Linked DNA regions of Homo sapiens: region 2 is linked to region 1. The links are contacts of gene promoters, found by promoter capture Hi-C in blood cells and fetal thymus (Javierre and others, 2016). All regions are on one chromosome and are shown on one strand. Each heading gives the region's core, a stretch centred on a gene start or on the middle of the fragment in contact. The rest is flanking DNA. Distances are from core to core; before and after follow the strand shown. Region 1 holds the start of BFAR (bifunctional apoptosis regulator). Region 2 holds the start of HAPSTR1 (HUWE1 associated protein modifying stress responses).

Region 1 (5,601 bases), core at 884-3,383:
GGATTACAGGAGTGAGCCACCGTGCCTGGCCTTGGACATTTTTCCTTATCCTCACATTGTTCCCTTCACCTGTAACACAACTTCACAACATCGCTGGGTCAAAAGTATCCAACTGGAAAGACCCAAATCAACTGTCACTTGAAAGTCTTTAATGACTAACTCCTCAACACCCAAATTAATCTTTCTTGTCTCTGTGCATTAGCATAACTTTTATTTGTGTACGTTTTCTCATCTCCTGGATTATAATTTCCTTAGGCTGGTAGAGTTGAAACAGTATGGTCTTAGGAGTGACACTGATCTGGGTTCCAAATCGCGTCACGATTTATTCTTCCTAAACTTCCTATTTCCCACTGATCCGTCTAGGATAATCATGTCAACTTCGAAGGGCTGTTGGGAGGTTTACTTTAAAAAAATTTTTTTAAGAGACAGCGTCTCCCTATGTTGCCTAGGTTGGTCTGGTCTCCTGGGCTCAAGGGATACTCCCACTTCTGCCTCCCAAACTGCTGGGATTACAGGCGTGAGCTGCGGAGCCCCGCCCTGCTGTGAGGTTTAGATGACAAACTATCTACAGGTACTCAAAGTTTGCTGTGTGGGGCTGATCGGCATTATTAACAGAATTATCAATAGCAGCATTTATTGAGTGATGGCTACCTACTTAGTGGCACTGCCAAACGCTGGAACCAAAAAGCAAACAAAAAGAACTGCCCTGGAGAAATACAATGTCTCCATCAAGTTTATGGATATAGGGAAATGCAGAGCACACCTGTCAGGATACACCCAGGCTGGATGTTGAGAAAACAGCAGCGACAAGAACAAACAAAACAACCCCATCAGCACGTGCAGTCCCTGCCGGCTCGGGGGTGTGTCCTGGGAAGAGAGTAAAGCTCTTTCCTATTGGCGATTTGGAGCATGACATCAAGACCACCCCCCTTGCAAAGGACCGACCAATGGGCTTCGGCGGGGAGGACCCAATGGCGACAGTTGAGGGCTTAACAGCGTCTAGGCTCTCACTCTGTTTTCCGCGGAAGCTGGGATGCTGCCTCCTGCCCCTCCAAAGGTCCCCGTTTAGACACAACCTGACTCTCATCTGTCGCCCCCTCCCGCCGGCTTTTTTAATAAAAGACAATTCTCGGCCGGGCGCGGTGGCTCACGCCTGTAATCTCCCCACTTTGGGAGGCCGAGGCGAGTGGGTCACTTGAGGCCAGGAGTTCGAGAACAGTCTGACCAACATGGTGAAACCCCGTCTCTACTAAAAATACAAAAATCAGCCGGGCGTGGTTACGCGGGCCCGTAATCCCAGCTACTCAGAAGGCTGAGGCAAGAGAATCGCTTGAACCTGGGAGGCGGAGGTTGCAGTGAGCCGAGATTGCTCCACCGCACTCCAGCCTGGGCGGCAGGGCAAGACTCCGTCTCTAAAAAGAAAAAAAAGAAAATTCTCTTTTGCCTAAGTTATTTCCGAGCCGCAAGTCGCAGAATCAGAAGAGCCGAGTTCTTGCCTGGCCCCAGTGTGACTTTGGGATTTCACTTTCTCCCTTCTGCGCTTCGGTCACCCTACTTTAAAGAATGGGCACAATCGCTCCGCCTTAGGCCAGGAACGTGCCTCGACAATTAGACCGTAAACTCAGCGTGGCGACTATCAGAAGCCTCATCAATTCTGGTCCGGCTGTTGCAGGGTGTGGCAAGCGCTCCTGGCGGGCAGGCGCCCCGTGGTTCCCCTCCAAGGTGTTTGGAAGCGACCCCTCCTCCTTCCCGCCCTAGGGAGCCCCAGGAGGGAGTGGCTCTGACCCTGACCCCCGAAAGGACGCAGGCGAGGCCCAGCGACCGGCTGTGCGGACGTGGGGCTCTCGGGAAGGGATAGCGCAGTTGGCCAAGCTGGGGTCCGAACCCCGCGGCCAGGAGTGGGGATGCTCAGGACTCGGGCCTGCGTGAGGAGAGGCCCCGCGCGCCTCCTACGACCCGGCTGGGGAGGCTCCGCAGAAGGGATTCCCGCTCCGTCTTCCACATCACTCCCCGATATCAAGCCCGAGTCGCCCCCTCAGCACCCCCCAGCCGTGTCGCGGCTTACCATTCCACTCGTCCCGGGCCAACCGGGCCATTATTCTCAGCACAGACCCCGCGGGAGCAGAGGAAGAGGGAGAGGCTTCGCTACCGGAAGTAACAAGACAGAGTGGGGGAAGCGTGCCCCGGCCCCGTGACCATAGAGGAGAGGCCGCTCTCCTTTCACAACCCCCCTCAACCCCGCGACCTCCCCGCTGCCTAGAGCGGCCACTCCCAGCCGGAGGAAGTGGGCGCATGCGTAATACCGCCGGTCCCGCCCCTTCCTCTTCACCCAGAGACCGAGTACCCGGGCTCGGCAGTCACAGCCCAAGGGGTGACGGGTGTGTGTCAGTTTCCGCTCCTCCTGGGCGGCTGTTCTTGTATCCGGAGGATACAAGCTTTGCCTAGAAATTAAAATATTACAAGGCCGCACCGTACTCTCTACAGTTATTTTTTGCCTTCACATTTTATGTAGAAAATCACAGGACTATACGTTCAATTTACGGTGTTAAGAATCGGAATTAAATGACTTTTATTTCTATTAAAATATTTTTTTTTTCGTAGAGATGGGGTCTCGCTGCGTTTTCCAGGCTGATCTTGAACATATGGCGTCAAGGGATCCTCCTGCCTCAGCCTTACAAAGTGCTGCGATTACAGGCGTGAGCCACCTCGTACAGCTTGAAATGGTTTTCTTATCACCACGTTTCGCCCCTTCCCAGCGTCTAGGTCACAGCGTCTAGAACTTATGCTGATTATTTGGTTTTGTTTTGTTGTTGTTGTTTGTTTTTGAGACAGAGTCTCACTCTCACCCGCCAGGCTGGCGTACAGTGGCACGATCTTGGCTCACTGCAACCTCCGCCTCCCGGGTTCAAGCGATTATCCCACCTCAGCCTCGTGAATAGTTGGGACTACGGGCGTGCACAACCACGCCTGGCTCATTTTAAAATTTCATTTTATTTTTATGGAGACAGGGTCTCGCTCTTTTCCCCAGGCTGGTCTGGAACTCCTGGGTTCAGGCGATTCTCCTGCCTCAGCCCCCGAAAACGCTGGGATTACAGGTGTGAGTCATGGCGCCAGGCCCCCATTAAACAGTTATTTATACAGATTTATTAATACGCTGCTTCCCAGTTCACATTCATTAGCACCACTGAGCCTCAATACAATCCCAGGAAATTGAGGTTTAGGAAGGTTTAATGCATTCCAGAACTAATAAGTGGCTGAGATAGATTTTGAAAATAGGTCTTCTAATCAACTTTCCTTTTGTTCGTTTGTTTGTTTTGGAGACGGAGTCTCGCTCTGTCGCCCAGGTTGGAGTGCAGTGGCACAATCTTGGCTCACTGCAACCTCCGCCTCCCGGGTTCAAGCAGTTCTCCTGCCTCAGCCTCCCGAGTAGCTGGGACTACAGGGGTGCGCCACCACGCCAGGCTAATTCTTTGTATTTTAGTAGAGATGGGGTTTCACCGTGTTGCCCAGGCTGGTCTCGAGCTCCTGGCCTCAAGCAATCCGCCTGCCTCGGCCTCCCAAAGTGCCAGGATCACAGGCGTGAGCCATCGCATCCGGCACTAACCAACTTTTCATAGTTGGCTTTTGTGAAAGACCAACCTGAATGTATTCATTCAACCCATGCTTATTGAGTGTCTACTACGTGTCAGCCCAGTGCTAGGCATTGGAGAACAGCAACCCCAAACCAACATACAATTCCATTAGGGCCGGGCCTCATATGTTGCACTCGACATAGTATTCCCAGAGGCTAATGCAGTAGCTAAGGGTCTCAGCTTTGCTTTCCGTGATCACCTAAGTAACAACCCCTATTATTCTTTTAATTTAATTTAATTTTTTTTTTGAAAACAAGTCTCGTTCTGTCACCCAGGCTGGAGTGCAGTGGCGTGATCTCGGTTCACAGCAACCTCCGCCTCCCAGGTTCAAGAGATTCTCCTGCCTCAGCTTCCCGAATAGCTGGGATTACAGGCGCGCACCACTGCACCCGGCTAATTTTTTGTATTTTTAATAGAGACAGGGTTTCACCATGTTGGCCAGGCTGCTCTTGAACTTCTGACCTCAGGTAATCCGCCCGCTTCTGCCTCCCAAATCGCTAGGATTACAGGCATGAGTCACCAAGCCCAGCCAATTTTTATATTTTTAGTAGAGACAGGGTTTCACTATGTTGGCCAGGCTGGTCTCGAACTCCTGATCTCGTGATCCGCCCGCCTCGGCCTTCCAAAGTGCTGGGATTACAGGCATAAGCCACCGGGTCCGGCCTAATTTTATTTTTTTAAGAGACAGGTCTCACTATGCTGTCCAGGCTGGTCTCGAACTCTTCAGTTCAACGGATCCTCCCGCCTCGGGTTCCCAAAGTGTTAGGCTTACAGGCGTGAGCCACCGCACCCGGATCCCATTATTCTCTATTACATCGCCCCGCTCTTTTTCTTAATAGCGATTTTCATGTGTTACCAAATGGCAAGTTTCACTCCTGCCTGAATTTCCCCTTACCCCAAGTTTAAGCTACAATGGGGCAGGGAGCACGTCTTCCTGTTCATCACTGTATCTCCACCCCTGTAAGAGTGGCTAGCATATCACAGAAACCCAGTCAGTATTTCCTGGTCGACTGGATGTCGAGACATGCACATTTTTTCTACTGAAGTGAAAGCCCGCACAAATTAGGCCACGCCTTGGGGACTTCGATAGCCACGCCCCTCCCCTGTCCCTATAAGGAGGGAAAGGAGCCCAGCCTTGGCCCCGCCCCCGCCGCCGCGCAGGCGCTGACGCAAGCGCAGCAGGCGCGCGCTGTTTCCGGAAGTCGCGGCCGGCGTCACCGCTGCGGCTGCCTCAGCTACTGCCGCAGTCGCCGCGGAATTCGGCGAGTAGAACCGCTGAGGCGGGCGCGGGCCCGGGTGGGGCCAAGGTTCCGGCCACTCTGCAGAATGGAGATAATCAGGAGCAGTGCGTGTCCGCCGTACACCTCCCCGCCTCCCCACACCCGGCTGCCCCTGGCCTGCTAGGCCGAGACCATGGCCGGCGTGTTTGGCTGGGCCTGGGGCTGAGGCAGCCCCTCAGGGCTTTTCCCTCCTTAAGCCGGTGCGCCTCTTGGGGTCTTTTCCGGCTGCGGACCGTGCACCCTAGGAGCCTTGTACTTACTCCTCCAACCCCGGCACCATCCGGGGCCTTGTCCTTCTCCGGGCCGGGCACCCCCCGGGGCTTGTCCCCCCTGACCCATGCACCCCTCGAGGACTTGATTCCCCTCGCCCCGGTGCACACCTCCGGGACTTTTCCCCTTCCGGCTCTCAGCCTCGGGAGCTCCTCGGCCCTCCTTCCCTCTCCCCTTAGCAGGAATTCAGGCCACTGGTTCTGAGCCTCTTTTCGGTTTCTCCGCAGATTTTAAGAGTAATCTTCACAAAGTGTACCAGGCCATAGAGGAGGCCGACTTCTTCGCCATCGATGGGGAGTTTTCAGGTATCCCTCCCTTGCAAGCTCAGGCTAGCACTTTGCAGTGCATAGCCAAGGCTCCTTCAATCCCCCAGCCCCCAACTTCTTATGCTTGGTGGTGGCCTCTTGCTGTTAGTAGCC
Region 2 (5,601 bases), core at 947-3,446, 5.5 Mb after region 1:
ACCCCAAATTTCTCAATCTTCAAAACCAGTAAGGCACAAAATCTAAACCCACCGTTACCAAGAATGCACAAATGGGCAAGAACGTTTACTTACACATCTTCATGTCATCACAAAGGGAGGGGGATTAACTCCAGAAAGGAACCACCATAAAACAAACCTATGGACTCAAAACTCTCAACAGAATTCCTGCCAGCAACTTATAATCAAATATAGGATCCTTTTAACAGAAAACACTTGATCAAATTGCTAGAGAAGAGCAGCACGTTAACATGCGCGCAGATGACTCCGATTAGCAAGCTTTCAAGCACTTCAAAACTATATAGACTGCCACGCTTTCAAATGCCTAACTCAAGAATCTTTTCCATAAAGTTCGTCCCACTTCCGACTGTAGTACAAAAAACATCAACTCTTATCTTCCCTCAATGTCTTTTCCAGAGGGAGGCAAGGCTCAGCCGTCTTCCAGCTCAACGCTTCTCAACCTGAGCACTACTGACTTTAGGGGCATGATAATTCTTCGCTGAGAGGGGGCCGGGGCGGTTATCTTGGGCACTGCAGGACCTTCAGCAGCCTCTATACACTGGGTGCCCAACAACAGCCCCTTCTAGGAGAAGCCAACCAAAAACGTCCCCAGGCGTTGCCATCTGTCCCGGGGGGCGGAGGGAGGTGTCAAAATCGCCTCCGGTGGATCTAGCTAGAGCACCGCCGCGATTCTCAAGTTGCAAGGTATTCAAGGTTAGCAGCTGGGCTGGGGAGCAGAAAACACACTTGGAACGCAGGGCAGACACCCTGACGCAGGCGGCCCTTCCCTGAATCGGCAATGCAGCAAGGTTATCTTTACCTTTGTAGAGATTGGTGACGGCGGTGGCTGCGTTTTGGAAGGGGACCCAGAGAGAAAGTCCTGGCTGCTGACACACTCGGTCTGAAAAGCAAGCCAAAAAAAAAAAAAACCAAAAAGAAAAAAGAAACACACATAGAAAGAGAAAGAAAGAGAACAAGAATGTTATTTGCGCGTCAATCACTCCGGAACGGCCATATTAGGTTTCGCCATTTTGTTCAGGGGTTTCGGGATCCCAAACCCAGTGTGAGGACCGGGGGGGCAGGGAGGTCGCGGCGGGGAAAAGGGGATGCCGCAGAGCTCAGGGGCACAGATCAGGGACGAGCCGCGGCGCAGGGAAGCGCCCCCCCTGGCAGTCCCCGCCCCGAGGCCGGCTCAGGGCACAATGGGGCCGCCCCGCCGTCTCCCTTCGCCATTTTGTGACGGGGGCTCCTCCTCTCCCGTCTCCGGGCCGAGGGGGACACCGGGTGGCCGGGCCCGGAGAGCGGGGACCCTCGGACCACCCCAAAGCGGGGCTACCCCCACGCCGGCTCTGGCCTGTCCCCCCAACCCCGGGCCTCCCTCCCGCGGCGCCATCTTGCGGGGAGGGGGCGGCAGGGCCGCGGAGCCACCGGCCGGGATCCCCGAGGCCGCCGCCGTCGCGGCCCCCCGAAGCGGCCGCTGAGCCGATAGGGCCGGGGCCGGGCCCGGGCGGGGGCGGCCAAGCGGTACCAAGATGGCGGCGGCGGCCTCACCTTTGTAGAGCTGGGCCACGGCGGTGGCCGAGTTCTGGAAGAGGTGCCACAGCTTCTGCTGCTTGTGCTCGGGCTGCGCGGCGGCCGCCGCCTCCTCCTGCAGCTCGGGGGGCAGCTGCTCGTCCTGTTCGGCCTCGGCCAGGCACTGCCGCTCCCACTTGGAGAACCAGTGCTCGGGCCCGTGCTCCTGGATCTCGGCCTCGCCCTCCTCCTTCCGCTCCTCCATCCTCCGCGGCCTCCCGCGGCCTCGCCGCCACCGCCGCCGCGTCCTCCTCAGGCGGGGCCCCCGCGGGAGCGTCGTCGTCAAGCGGCCCGGCGGCAGGGCCTGGCGACCGACGGCGCCTTCTCCTTTCAGCGGCCCAGGCCTCCTGCACCCCGACGGCCGGCGAGCCCCGCCCCGCGGCCCCGTGCAACCAGGGACGACCCCCGCCCCAGGCCTTCCCACCCCCGGGCCCGGCCGAAGGTCGCCGCGGACCAGATAACCGCTGCCGCCCCTCGCCTCGGCCGCCGCAGCCTGTCTAACGCCCCCCCATGGCGCTGCGGCCTCCCCACTGCCGCCGCCGCCGCTGATCGCCGAGCCCTCCGCGCAGCTCGGCCTGCACCGCGGAGCCCACCCCAAGACTGAGCAACGTCGTCGTCGTCGCCACCGCCGAGGACGGCTCTGCGGCTGCTGGTCCCCGCCCTACCCCGCCCACATGCTGACAGGAGAAGCACCGCCCACTGGGCCCAAGCTACCCTGCCCGGTTGAGGCGTGGCCGCTCCAAGGGCCCCTATTAGTCGGATCCGGCCGGTTCCGCGTGGCGGCTTCTGAGCACAGCGTCGTGATTGGTTCTTCGGCCTGTCTGCCTGACGTAACCAATTGGCTGGGGGAAGGGAGTGAATGTCAGGAAGGATGAAGGAGGAGGAGGGGGAGGAGCTGACAGTGGTTGCGTCCGAGCCAAGGGGGCGGGTGGGGGGTGGAGGGGAAGAGCTAGAAGGGATGCGCATGCGCACTTGCTCGCTGCTCCCCCCCCCGCTCAGGGGCGTTGAGTGGGGATCACGTGACGAGGCCCAGCGACCGCACCCCGCGGGAGCTTTTCCGGCGTGTACAGGCCCTGGGGGGATGCAAAGTCGAGTGCGGCTCCTGTGCCGCGGGCACTGAGAGGTATAGTGGGTGGTAGCGTGCTTACTCCAGCCCCTGGGGCTCCCAAAGGGAGGAGGGTAGTAGAGAAAGTGAATAAAACGCCCAACTCGTGTCCAAGTTTGCAAAGCGCTTTCCTATTCTTTTGAGTACTCCCCCTTTTTTTTTTTTTTTTTTGAGACGGGGTCTTGCTACGTTGTCGAGGTCTAGACTGCTGGCCTCAGGCGATCTTCCAGCCTCCCAGGGCGCTGGGATTACAGGCTTGAGCCACCGCGCCCGGCCCAGAGTCCCATTTCTTAGACGGGCAAATCGACCATCACAGCCAAAGAAAAACTTCCGAGTTGCGAAGTCGGCTCAGTTGCCCCTGCGCCCTGGCGTCCCCCGAGGACGTCGCGCCTTCCGGGTGGACAGGACCTCGGCGGCCGCCCGCGGAGCCAAGGATAACCCGACGGCCGACGGTGCCCGGTGCCCGCACGCGTGCGTCTGCGCCTTTGCGCGCGCGGCGGCCCCCGCACCTGTCCCGAAAAGCACACTCCCAGGCCACGTGCATGCCCCGCGTCACGTACCGGCCCCTGCCTTCCCCGGCCCGAACCCGCGTGGCGGTGCCGAGCGCTGCGCCCGCCCCTACTCCCCCCGCAGTGCGCGATAGCTGGACGCCCCTGCGGCTGCGCGCCCCCCTCCCCTGTCGGGGCTTTCTCCAGGGTCTGAGGCCCCGGAGAAGGCAGCAACGCAGACAGGCGGTGACCGCACAGAGGCAAAACCCACCATCCCCACCTACATGCCCACGGGAGGCACCATCCGGCCTGGAGCGGCGGAGGGCGCCGGCCAGAGGCAGCGTCGCCCGCAGCCTGCGATAGTGCGCTTGCACAGAGCAAGGCGGCTTTGGAAGAAAATCTGACCCCCTCACCGCGGCCTGCAAACCCCTGCAGGATCTGGCCCTGGCGCCTCTCACACAATCCCCTACTTGGCTTGTACCTTGCGCACTCCCCCTCTTCCCCACCTCGCCTGGACGCTCACACACTGGCCTGCCTTATTTCCCTGGGACACTAGGCTCTTTCCTGCCCCAGTCTGCTATCTCTGGAAGCTCTTCCTCCTCCTCTTTCCTCAGATAGCTCCTGTTTAGGAAGCCTACTAGGACAAGCCTAAAGTAGCACCCTTCACACTGTCTCGTATTGCCTGGTTATATTATTTCATAACATCAATCACTATCTAAAATGCTAAATTAGGCCTGGCGCGGTGGCTAAAAAACAGGTTTCCAATTGTAGGGAAGAATATAAAGTGAAAAGCAAACAAAAATCATTCTACCTACCTCATTCTACATCCTCCCAATCCTATTCCCAGGAAATAACTTGTGACCTTTGAAAACGGAGTTATGTGTACGTCGAGTGTGTATGTGTGTGTGTACCTATATACAAGTATGTCCCTTCTTAAGGAAAAAAAAAGATGATTTTATGTGTACTATCCTACAAGCCTTTTTTCCTTAACATAATTTGGATGTCTCCACATTGGGACCTAAAGACTTATTTATTCTTTTAAAATATTGCAAATAATTTCATTGTATGGATTCACTACAAAGTATTTTACAGGGCCCCTATTGATACAAATTTAGATTGTGACCAGTCTTTGGCTATTATAAACAATGCCATAATGAACATCTTGTACATATGTAATACAGTGAACATCCTTGCATATATACATATGTGTATTGAATATATATCCTCAGAAATAGTATTTTAGAGTCACAAGGTATATGAGTTAAATATTTTAGGAGGGTAGGCATGGTAGCTTACACCTATAATCTCAACAATTTAGGAGGCCAAGACGCAAGGATTGCTTGAACTCAAGAGTTCAAGACCAGCCTAGGCGACATAGTGAAACCCAGTCTCTACAAAAAAATACAAAACACAGCCAGGCATGGCGGCACACACGTGTAGTTCCAGCTACTCAGGAGGCTGAGGCGGGAGGATTGCTTGAGCCCAGAAGGCATAGGTTGCAGTGAGCCGAGATAGTGCCACTACACTCCAGCCTGGGTGACAGAGACCCCATCTCAATCAATCAATCAATCAATAAAACTGCCTGCTGAGTGTACGATCAATGGTTGTTGATATGTCAATTTCTACATTTCTGCATTCATGGTAGCACGTGGGAAGTCCAGGCCTGCACATGTAGGTATGACAAAGGAGAGAACACAGCTGGACGATTTCGCTGCCTGCAGGCTCCGCTTCAAAAGCCACACACCACTTTGGACAGTCCAAAGGTTTCGAGTTTTTACAGAATGAAGGCTGCTCTTCTTCTCCTTCATGTAACTCAGACCCTGTTCCAGAAGCCTCTGGCCTTTTCTTGTAAGAACATAATATTTCAGCCATACATACAAGATGGAATGATATTGAATAGCATAAACGCTGGCTCTATAATAAATATTTGTCAGTTGGAAAAAACAGTCTAAAGAAAAAGGAATAAATATTGAAAAGCACCACCTATCTGCTTGATTTCCATGACCCTGAGCTTTGTGTTAACCTCTAAGAGTTTCTTTTTTGTTGTTGTTTCGAGACGAAATCTCGCTCTGTCGCCCAGGCTGGAGTGCAGTGGCGTGATCTCAGCTCACTGCAACTTCTGCCTCCTGGGTACAAGCCATTCTCCTGCCTCAGCCTTCCTAGTAGCTGGGATCAGAGGTGTGCACCAGCATGCCCAGATAATTTTTTGTGTTTTTTGTAGAGATAGTTTTGCAATGTTGCCCAGATTGGTCTCCAATTCTTGGGCTTAAGCAGTTCTCCCACCTCAGCCTCCCAGGTAGCTGGGACTACAGGCACATGCTACCATGCCTGGCTAAATGTATTTTTTGTAAAGATGGGGTTTTGCAGTGTTGCCCAGGCTGGTTTCCAACTCCTGGACTCAAGCAATCCTCCTGCCTC

The links. Contacts are between HindIII fragments. The CHiCAGO score rates a contact against its expected background, and 5 or more counts as called.
Region 2: the fragment with the promoter of HAPSTR1 here is called in contact with the fragment with the promoter of BFAR in region 1 in 1 of 17 cell types (fetal thymus); the score reaches 5.5 in fetal thymus.

Annotation. Positions count from the first base shown.
Region 1 is chr16:14,629,483-14,635,083 of GRCh38, reverse strand. It overlaps BFAR (bifunctional apoptosis regulator), which reads right to left and starts at 2,133. Exons shown (of 8, transcript NM_016561.3): 1 at 2,066-2,133. PARN (poly(A)-specific ribonuclease) reads left to right here and starts at 4,824. Exons shown (of 24, transcript NM_002582.4): 1 at 4,824-4,977; 2 at 5,410-5,487. The coding sequence starts at 4,959. RefSeq lists enhancers at 1,551-2,120, 2,121-2,688, 4,288-4,810, 4,811-5,332, 5,333-5,601. The HindIII fragment of the contact is 17,820 bases long and covers 1-2,437 here.
Region 2 is chr16:9,088,239-9,093,839 of GRCh38, reverse strand. It overlaps HAPSTR1 (HUWE1 associated protein modifying stress responses), which reads right to left and starts at 2,196. Exons shown (of 4, transcript NM_014117.3): 1 at 1,570-2,196; 2 at 839-919. The coding sequence starts at 1,795. RefSeq lists enhancers at 727-896, 3,166-4,031 and silencers at 1,047-1,546, 1,757-2,096, 2,267-2,336, 3,125-3,255. The HindIII fragment of the contact is 14,700 bases long and covers 300-5,601 here.